Linked DNA regions of Homo sapiens: region 1 is linked to region 2. The links are contacts of gene promoters, found by promoter capture Hi-C in blood cells and fetal thymus (Javierre and others, 2016). All regions are on one chromosome and are shown on one strand. The core of a region is centred on a gene start or on the middle of the fragment in contact, and the rest is flanking DNA. Distances in the headings are between cores, read along the strand shown.

Region 1 (3,673 bases), core at 496-2,995, 110 kb before region 2:
GGATACTTTTCGATCATAGTTTTTATGGTGAGAGTTTTCATTTTGTTCTGTCTTATTTTTATGTGTATTTTAGTTAGATGTTCGCTTAGTCTATTCAAGATGTGTTTTTTGTTTGTTTGTTTGTTTTGAGACAGAGCATTGCTCTGTCGCCCAGGTTGGAGTTTCAGTGGTGCGATCTCAGCTCACTGCAACCTCCACTTCCTGGGTTCAAGTGATTCTCCTGCTTCAGCCTCCTGAGGCAAGCACGCGCCACCACACCCGGCTAATTTTTTATTTTTAGTAGAGATAGGGTTTCACCATGTTGGTCAGGCTGGTTTTGAACTCGACCTTATGATCCACCTGCCTCCGCCTCCCAATGTTCTGGGATTACAGGTGTGAGCCACCGCCCCCGGCCTGTTCAAGATGTTATAACAAAATGCCTTAGACTGGGTAATTTGTGAACAACAGAAATTTATTTCTTACAGTCCTAGAGGCTGGGAAGTCCAAGAGTCAGCTTGCCAGCAGATTGTGTGTCTGGTGAGGGCCTCTTCCTTATAAGTGGCACCTTCTATGTGTCCTCACGTGGCAGAAGGGACAAACAAGCTCCTTTGGACCTCTTTTGTAATGGCACAAATGCCATTCATGAGGGCAGAGTCCTTACGACCTAATAATTTCCCAGATATTCCACGTCTTAATACCACCATGTTGGGGATTAGGTTTTACCTATGAATTTTTGGAACATTCAAATCATAGCAGCTGTTAAGAAATGTTGAATCAGAAGTTTCTAGTCATTCTTTTTTTTGTTTTTTTGAGGCAGAGTCTTGCTCTGTCGCCCAGGCTGGAGTGCAGTGGTGCAATCTCGGCTCACTGCAACCTCTGCCTCCCGGGTTCAAGTGACTACCCTGTCTCAGCCTCCCGAGTAGCTGGGATTACAGGCGCCCGCTACCACGCCCAGCTAACTTTTGTATTTTTGGTAGAGGCAAGAGTGTCACCATGTTGGCCAGGCTGATCTCAAACTCCTGACCTCAGGTGATCTGCCTACCTTGGCCTCCCGAAGTGCTGTGATTACAGGCGTGAGCCACTGCACCTGGCCAGAAGTTGCTAGTCATTCTAAACTGGAAGCTTGACATAATATTTTGAATCAAGCATTTTAAAAATGTCTGCTTTTCATAAATAGTTTATTTTTACATATTTATCCCTTTCATTTAGGAAAGAAGATTCATGAGTTTTTTTTTTAATCAGCTGGCAAATTAGAGAAAATATTTATACAGCTTCTAATAGGCATCTCAAATTATTTTGAAACATTGGGAATATATCTTTTGTAATGTTTTGCTTGTAATAATTGAATAGATTTTCTCATTTGGTAATAACTTGGAAAATACAAAGTGGCCCATTTAAAATGGACTCTGATTTAAAGGTACTGTTGGAGGCATTGGTGACGGGCCATTTTTCCTTTTAAATAGAGAAAGTATGACAATCTATTTTCAAGAAACTGCCATAGCAATATTTTTAGTCTCATATGCTCGCACAGAATTTTGTCACTCCCCACCAGTAGGTGGAATCTATTTCCACTCTTCTTGAACCTGGGCAGGCTTGTGACTGTTCAACCAATTGAATATGGTGGAAATAATGTGATGGGATTTCTGAGGCCATGATATAAATAGGATACAACTGATCCAGCAATCGCACTACTGAGTATCTACCCAAAGGAAAATAAATCAACATGTTTATTGCAGTACTATTCACAACAGCAAAGATACAGAATCAGCGTTGAGTATCTATTAGTGGATGAATGGATAAAGAAAATATGGTATATATACACAATGGAATATTGTTCAACCATAAAAAAACAAAACAAAATAATGTCACTTACAGCAACATGGATGGAACTGAAGGTCATTATCTTAAGTTAAATAAGCTAGGCACAAAAAGACAAATATCATATATTCTCACTTATATGTGGGAGCTAAAAATTTGAACACATGGAGGTAGAGAATGGAAAATAGATAAGAGAGACTGGGAAGGGTGAGTGGGGGAAAGGGGAAGGATGAAGAGAAGTGAGTTAAAGGGTACAAACATACATTAAGATAGGAGTAGATTCAATGTTTGATAGCAGAGCAGGATGACTATACCTAACAAAAATGTATTGTACCTGGTGATGAACATCCTGAAGACCCTGGCTTAATACTATGCATAATATACATGTAACATAATTCCTCATGTAATCTGTAAATTTGCACAAATAAAAAGAGGGAAAAAAAAAAGCTACAGCTTCTTCCTGGCTCTCTCTTTGTCTTGGGATGCTTGTTGTTGGAACTAAGTCATACGAAGAGGCCACATGTGGGTATTCTCTTCAAAAACCTGAGCTAAGCTGCAGCCAACAGCCAGTATTAACCACAGTATGAGTGAGAAAGCTTTCAGGTAATTCCAGCCCCAGGTTGTCGAGTATCCTGCTGAGGCCCCAGAAGTTGCGGAGCAGAGACAAGCCAGCCCCACTGTGCCCTGTCTGAATTTATGGTCCACAGAACCTGTGATAGATAATAAGTGATTATTGCCTTAAGCCACTAAGTTTTGGGGTAATTTGTTACATGGCAGTAGATAATTCATATAATTTCTAGAAACTTATAGGGAAATAAAGATTTGCTCAAAGACATATATATATATATATATGTGATATATAAATGATCCATGTATATATATATGATATGGGTGATATATATAAAATAAATATGGGTGATATATATATATACACACACACACACACACACACACACATACATATATATATGTTCTCTGCTGTATCATTTATTTATGTTTTCTTTTTTTTAGAGGCAGAATCTCACTCTGTCACCCAGGCTAGAGTACAGTGGCTCAGTCATAGGTCACTGCAGCCTTGAACTCCTGGGCTCAAGCGTTCCTCCTGCCATAGCCTCCCAAAGCACTGGGATTATAGGTGTGAGCCACGATGCCTGGCCCTGCAGTATAATTTACAATTTTTTGAAATAGTCTAGCTATCCAACAATAAGAAAATGTTTAAATAAATTATCATAAGCACACTATTTTCCTAAGTAAAATTTCTACATTTTCTATATTCAAAAACAAAGTTTAAAGAATTGGTATATAGTCAATTATGTCATAATGATAAACCTAATTGAATTATATATTTACATAAATAAAGATCATTAAGAACAAAAAAGGCTTTACATCTGATAAAGGACATGTACCCAGAACATACAAGAACTTTCGTCAGTCAATAAGAAAAGATACTAAATGTTTTAAATGGACAAAAGAATTGAACAAGCACATCCCCAAAGAAGATATTCAAATGGCCCTTAAGCAAGTAGAAAGGTCCTCAACATCACTACTCATCAGGGAAATGCAAAGTAGAGAACAAAGAGATACCGGTAGACGTTCACTGTACTGGAATAAAATTTAGCAGATGAGCAATATTGAGTGTTGACAAGGATATGAAGTAACTGGAACCCTTACACCTTGATGGTGTGAGGGTAAATGGTATCACTTTGTGAACTGTTGGGTAAAACCAATGTTGACCCCATAAACTTTCAGTCCCATTCTTGGGTATATACCTAAGAGAAAAGAGTGCTTATGTCCACCAAAGCACACATAGAATTATATTCATAGCAACTGTATTCATAATGGCTCAAATTGGAAAGCTGCTCTAGTCATACATTGT
Region 2 (3,747 bases), core at 1-2,500:
GTGAGCGCGCCCACCTGCGCCTCTCCGCGCGGCCCGCCCTCCCCGGCGCCGGGCTCCTCTCCGCGCCCCTGTCGGCGCGGAACCCTGGCCTCGTCCGCGGCCCAGCTCCCTGGAGCCTCGCATCAGCGGGGGCGCCCCCGCGAGCTGCGCTCTCCCCGGCCGGAGCGCTCCTCCTCCAGCCCCCAGCCCGCAGGGTACTTTGCCCTCGGAGCGAAGGAGGCTCCAGAACTGGTAGAGCCGGGCCATCGGGCTGGGCACCTCCCCGCGGCGCCCGCAGCGCGGAGTCCACTGACCGGCTCAAAGGTCTGGGAATCTCGGGGCGGCCGCGAGCCGGCCTCGGGGACTGGGGTGGGGGCGGTGCTGGGAACAGAGGCTAGGCCTGGGCCCAAGGGGAAGGCAGCCGGGGATGGAGCGGACAGACCGCTGGTGCTCTTGATAGATTCTCGCAGCACTTGCGTCCCCAGGGCAGCCCCAGGATGGGTGCTGGGCAGGGTGGTGCCCAGCCTGGCACCGCGGCTTCCTGCCTGGATTGGCTCCTGGCTCCAGAGCTAGAGGCTCAGGAAATCCCACAGGGGTCTGTCTGCAAGGGCACTTCCTTGCCCAGCGGAGGGGCTGTGGATGGGAGGCCTGTCACCCCGGCTGTCTGTCGGGCAGCATCAGGAATCTGGGGGTGGGTGTGTCCAGCTTGACAGATGAACCCTGGCCTCCTTGCCCTGGCAGCCGGCCCCTGGGGGAGGTGGGGAGCCCGGTCTTGCCCGTGTGATCCACTTTGCCAAGAACGAGGTGGGCAGCTAGGAGGCCCATGTGAAGACTCGGCCTCACCCCACCAGTCCTTCACCTGGCCAGTGACTTACACAGTCTGTACTGGTGCCAGCCTGTTCCTTGACCCGTCACTCCTGCTTCCTGAGCCCTGCTCTCCCTAGGCCACTCACCAGCCCTCCCCCAGAGTGGAGAGGAAGTACCGTGTGCTGTGGGTTTTGGGGACAGGAAGCAAGCGCTAGTGGGACTGAGCCCTGATGGTGGAGGAGGGGAGACTGAGGGGGTGCTGGCATCCCCTCCACTTGCCAGCCCCTGCCCCCCATGCTCCAGCAAGCCCCCTGCCTGGCAGCCTGGGCAGCCCCCTCCTGGGAGTCGCTCCCTGGGCTGAAGACTAAGGAAGGGAGAACCCAGAAGCATGGCTTCCCAGGGTGGGGGGAAGTGAAACCGGGCTGAGGGAGGGAGTTAGCCACTTCCTCTACCCACCCCAAAGCCCCTGAGTAGCTGCTCCGGGAGCTGTGGTGCCCTCTCCTTCTCCCTTTGGCTCCTCTCCTGCTGCCTTACAGTGCCCCCAGAGCCGGCTAGGGGCATGGACTTCACCTCCTGGTCCTCTCTTCCTCAGGTATGGCGTTGACGGTGGATGTGGCCGGGCCAGCGCCCTGGGGCTTCCGTATCACAGGGGGCAGGGATTTCCACACGCCCATCATGGTGACTAAGGTAAGGATGGTGGCTCAAAGAGATGAGAAGGTCCTGCCAGAAGCGAGGTCGGCCCTGTTCACCCCACTCTGCACAGATGGCTTGCTTTTTCTGTTCTGGAGCTAGGGATCTGCTGCTGCCTGGCGTGCTGGCTGTAAGGGAGCCGTGGCCCTTTGCCACGGGGATGTGGTGGCCACTTCAGGAACAGACCTTGGGAGTGAAAGGGAGCTGGGACCAGGACAGGGCCGGCTCTTGCCTCCCCAGTTGCTATCCCCACACTTGCAGGCAGCCATTTGGGGTGATTACTAGAACAAGAGCCCCGGAGTTCTTGGCAGTCTCCTCTTGACCTGGGCCCAGGCTGGGAACATTCACAGGAGGGCTGTGCAGGCAGCCACCTGCAAGGTGCGATTTGCACGGGCAAGGCTCTCTATCCAAAAGTATTTCCAAGCACAGTTCCTGAAATTCTGCCACTGCACATTCTTTGGGAGGCCCATTAGAATGCCAGTGTGGGGTGGGGGCTGCCACCTGCGCTCCTGGAGGGGATGGCTGATCAGCTGGGTGTCATGAGCAGGCAGAGGGACATGCAGGAGGGTGCAGGCCGGCCTGGGTCAAGCCAGCCTCTGTGTTTCTTGGGTAGCAGAGTGGGAAGTCCCTTCTCCAGCTGGGCCACGGTCTGAGCATGCCAGCTCCTCATCCCTACAGGTGGCCGAGCGGGGCAAAGCCAAGGACGCTGACCTCCGGCCTGGAGACATAATCGTGGCCATCAACGGGGAAAGCGCGGAGGGCATGCTGCATGCCGAGGCCCAGAGCAAGATCCGCCAGAGCCCCTCGCCCCTGCGGCTGCAGCTGGACCGGTAGGGCCTCCCGCTCTGCAGAGCCTGTGGCATTCCCCCTCCTCCACCACCCCACGTATTGAGCAGCCCTTGCTCCTGCCCATGGGCTAGAGCTCAGCCCTAAAGCGGCCTTCTTGGGCCCTCTCCACACCTTGGTGAGAAGGTCCTGGGCTCTGCTTCCTGCAGCAGGGTGGGCTGAGGGGTGTTCCCATGCCTGGTTGGGTAAAGGTGGGCGCCAGGCTGGGCGTGCAGTCACAGGCTGGGCAGGGCGAGCTGGCACCAGCCACCTTGAAGCCCGGGTTTGACTGGTTCCCAAGAGTGTGCAGGGCACAGGGCGTGGGCATGAAGTGGGTTGAAGAGGGGAACCTTCTGGGAAAGGTATGCCCGAGGCTGCATCCCCAGGACTCCTGCTTCCAACAGGGCATGGCCTTTGTTTAGTTCCCAGCTGGAAGTGAGGACTTGGGGGGCTCATTCCTCATAGAGGCTGTCTGTTCCTCCCCATCACTGAAGGCAGATGCCCGATCCTGGGTTACTCCTAGGGTTTTGAGCCTATAAGCCAAGGTGGGGCCAGGGTGGGGCCTGGAGGCCAAGCTATAGGGGGAACAGGTGGCTCCCTGGGGTGGGGCATTGCAGTGAGTCACAGATCGGGAATGCCAGGAGATCCCCGAGCCAGGAGAGCCCTCTGCACGGGCCTAGAACCTGAGTCAGACACCTCTTGCATCCTGGCCACCCCCACATTGTCCTGCTCTCTTCAGCCCTACCAAGCCCCTCCTTCTCCAACTGCCCTGCCCTGTGGTGTGGCAGAAGCCGGCTCCCTTCATGTCATTCAGGTCCCTGGGTGTTTGCAGGAGCGGGACCCCAAGAAGGAGGGTAGAGAGCACCTCATGGCATCTGGGAATGGGGCAGAAAGCTACAGGAGGCTGAGGGTCTGGCAGCGGAAGGGCAGGAGCCTCGGACTGTCTCTTCCTCTGGGGTTCTCTGGAGGGACCAGGGCTCGGGGGAGGTAGGCCTGGGCTGTAAGTCAGGCCTCTGGTTCTGCACCAGGCAAGCCCAGACTCCAGTCTCTTAATTTTTTTTTTTTTTTTTTTTTTGAGACAGAGTCTCGCTCTGTTGCCAGGCTGGAGTGCAGTAGCGTGATCTCGGCTCACTGCCACCTCTGCCTCCCGGGTTCAAGAGAGTCTCCTGACTCAGCCTCCTGAGTACCTGGGACTACAGGCGCGTGCCACCACGCCCAGCTAATTTTTGTATTTTTAGTAGAGATGGGGTTTCACCACGTTGGCCAGGATGGTCTCGATCTCCTGACCTCGTGATCCACTTGCCTCAGCCTCCCAAAGTGCTGGGATTACAGGTATTACACCGCGCCCGGCCCAGTCTCCTTACTTTTGCTGACGTGATGCCCACCCCCCCCCCCGCCCCCATCTCCCGCCTCCTACCCTCCCAGGTGACCTCTCTGGTATTCAGA

The links. Contacts are between HindIII fragments. The CHiCAGO score rates a contact against its expected background, and 5 or more counts as called.
Region 1: a contact is called between a fragment that was not itself captured here and the fragment with the promoter of PDLIM2 in region 2, in 4 of 17 cell types (total CD8 T cells, naive CD4 T cells, naive CD8 T cells and 1 more). The highest score is 6.7, in total CD8 T cells.

The regions. Positions count from the first base shown.
Region 1 is chr8:22,467,333-22,471,005 of GRCh38, forward strand. The region is part of intron 1 of PPP3CC (protein phosphatase 3 catalytic subunit gamma); the gene reads left to right. Among named protein-coding and RNA genes, the nearest start is that of PPP3CC, 28 kb to the left of the region's middle. The HindIII fragment of the contact is 1,292 bases long and covers 1,100-2,391 here.
Region 2 is chr8:22,579,225-22,582,971 of GRCh38, forward strand. It overlaps PDLIM2 (PDZ and LIM domain 2), which reads left to right and starts at 1,251. Exons shown (of 9, transcript NM_001368120.1): 1 at 1,251-1,473; 2 at 2,155-2,306. The coding sequence starts at 1,381. RefSeq lists silencers at 38-107, 208-297, 308-467, 1,198-1,287, 2,852-3,146 and an enhancer at 2,485-3,177. The HindIII fragment of the contact is 20,077 bases long and covers 1-3,747 here.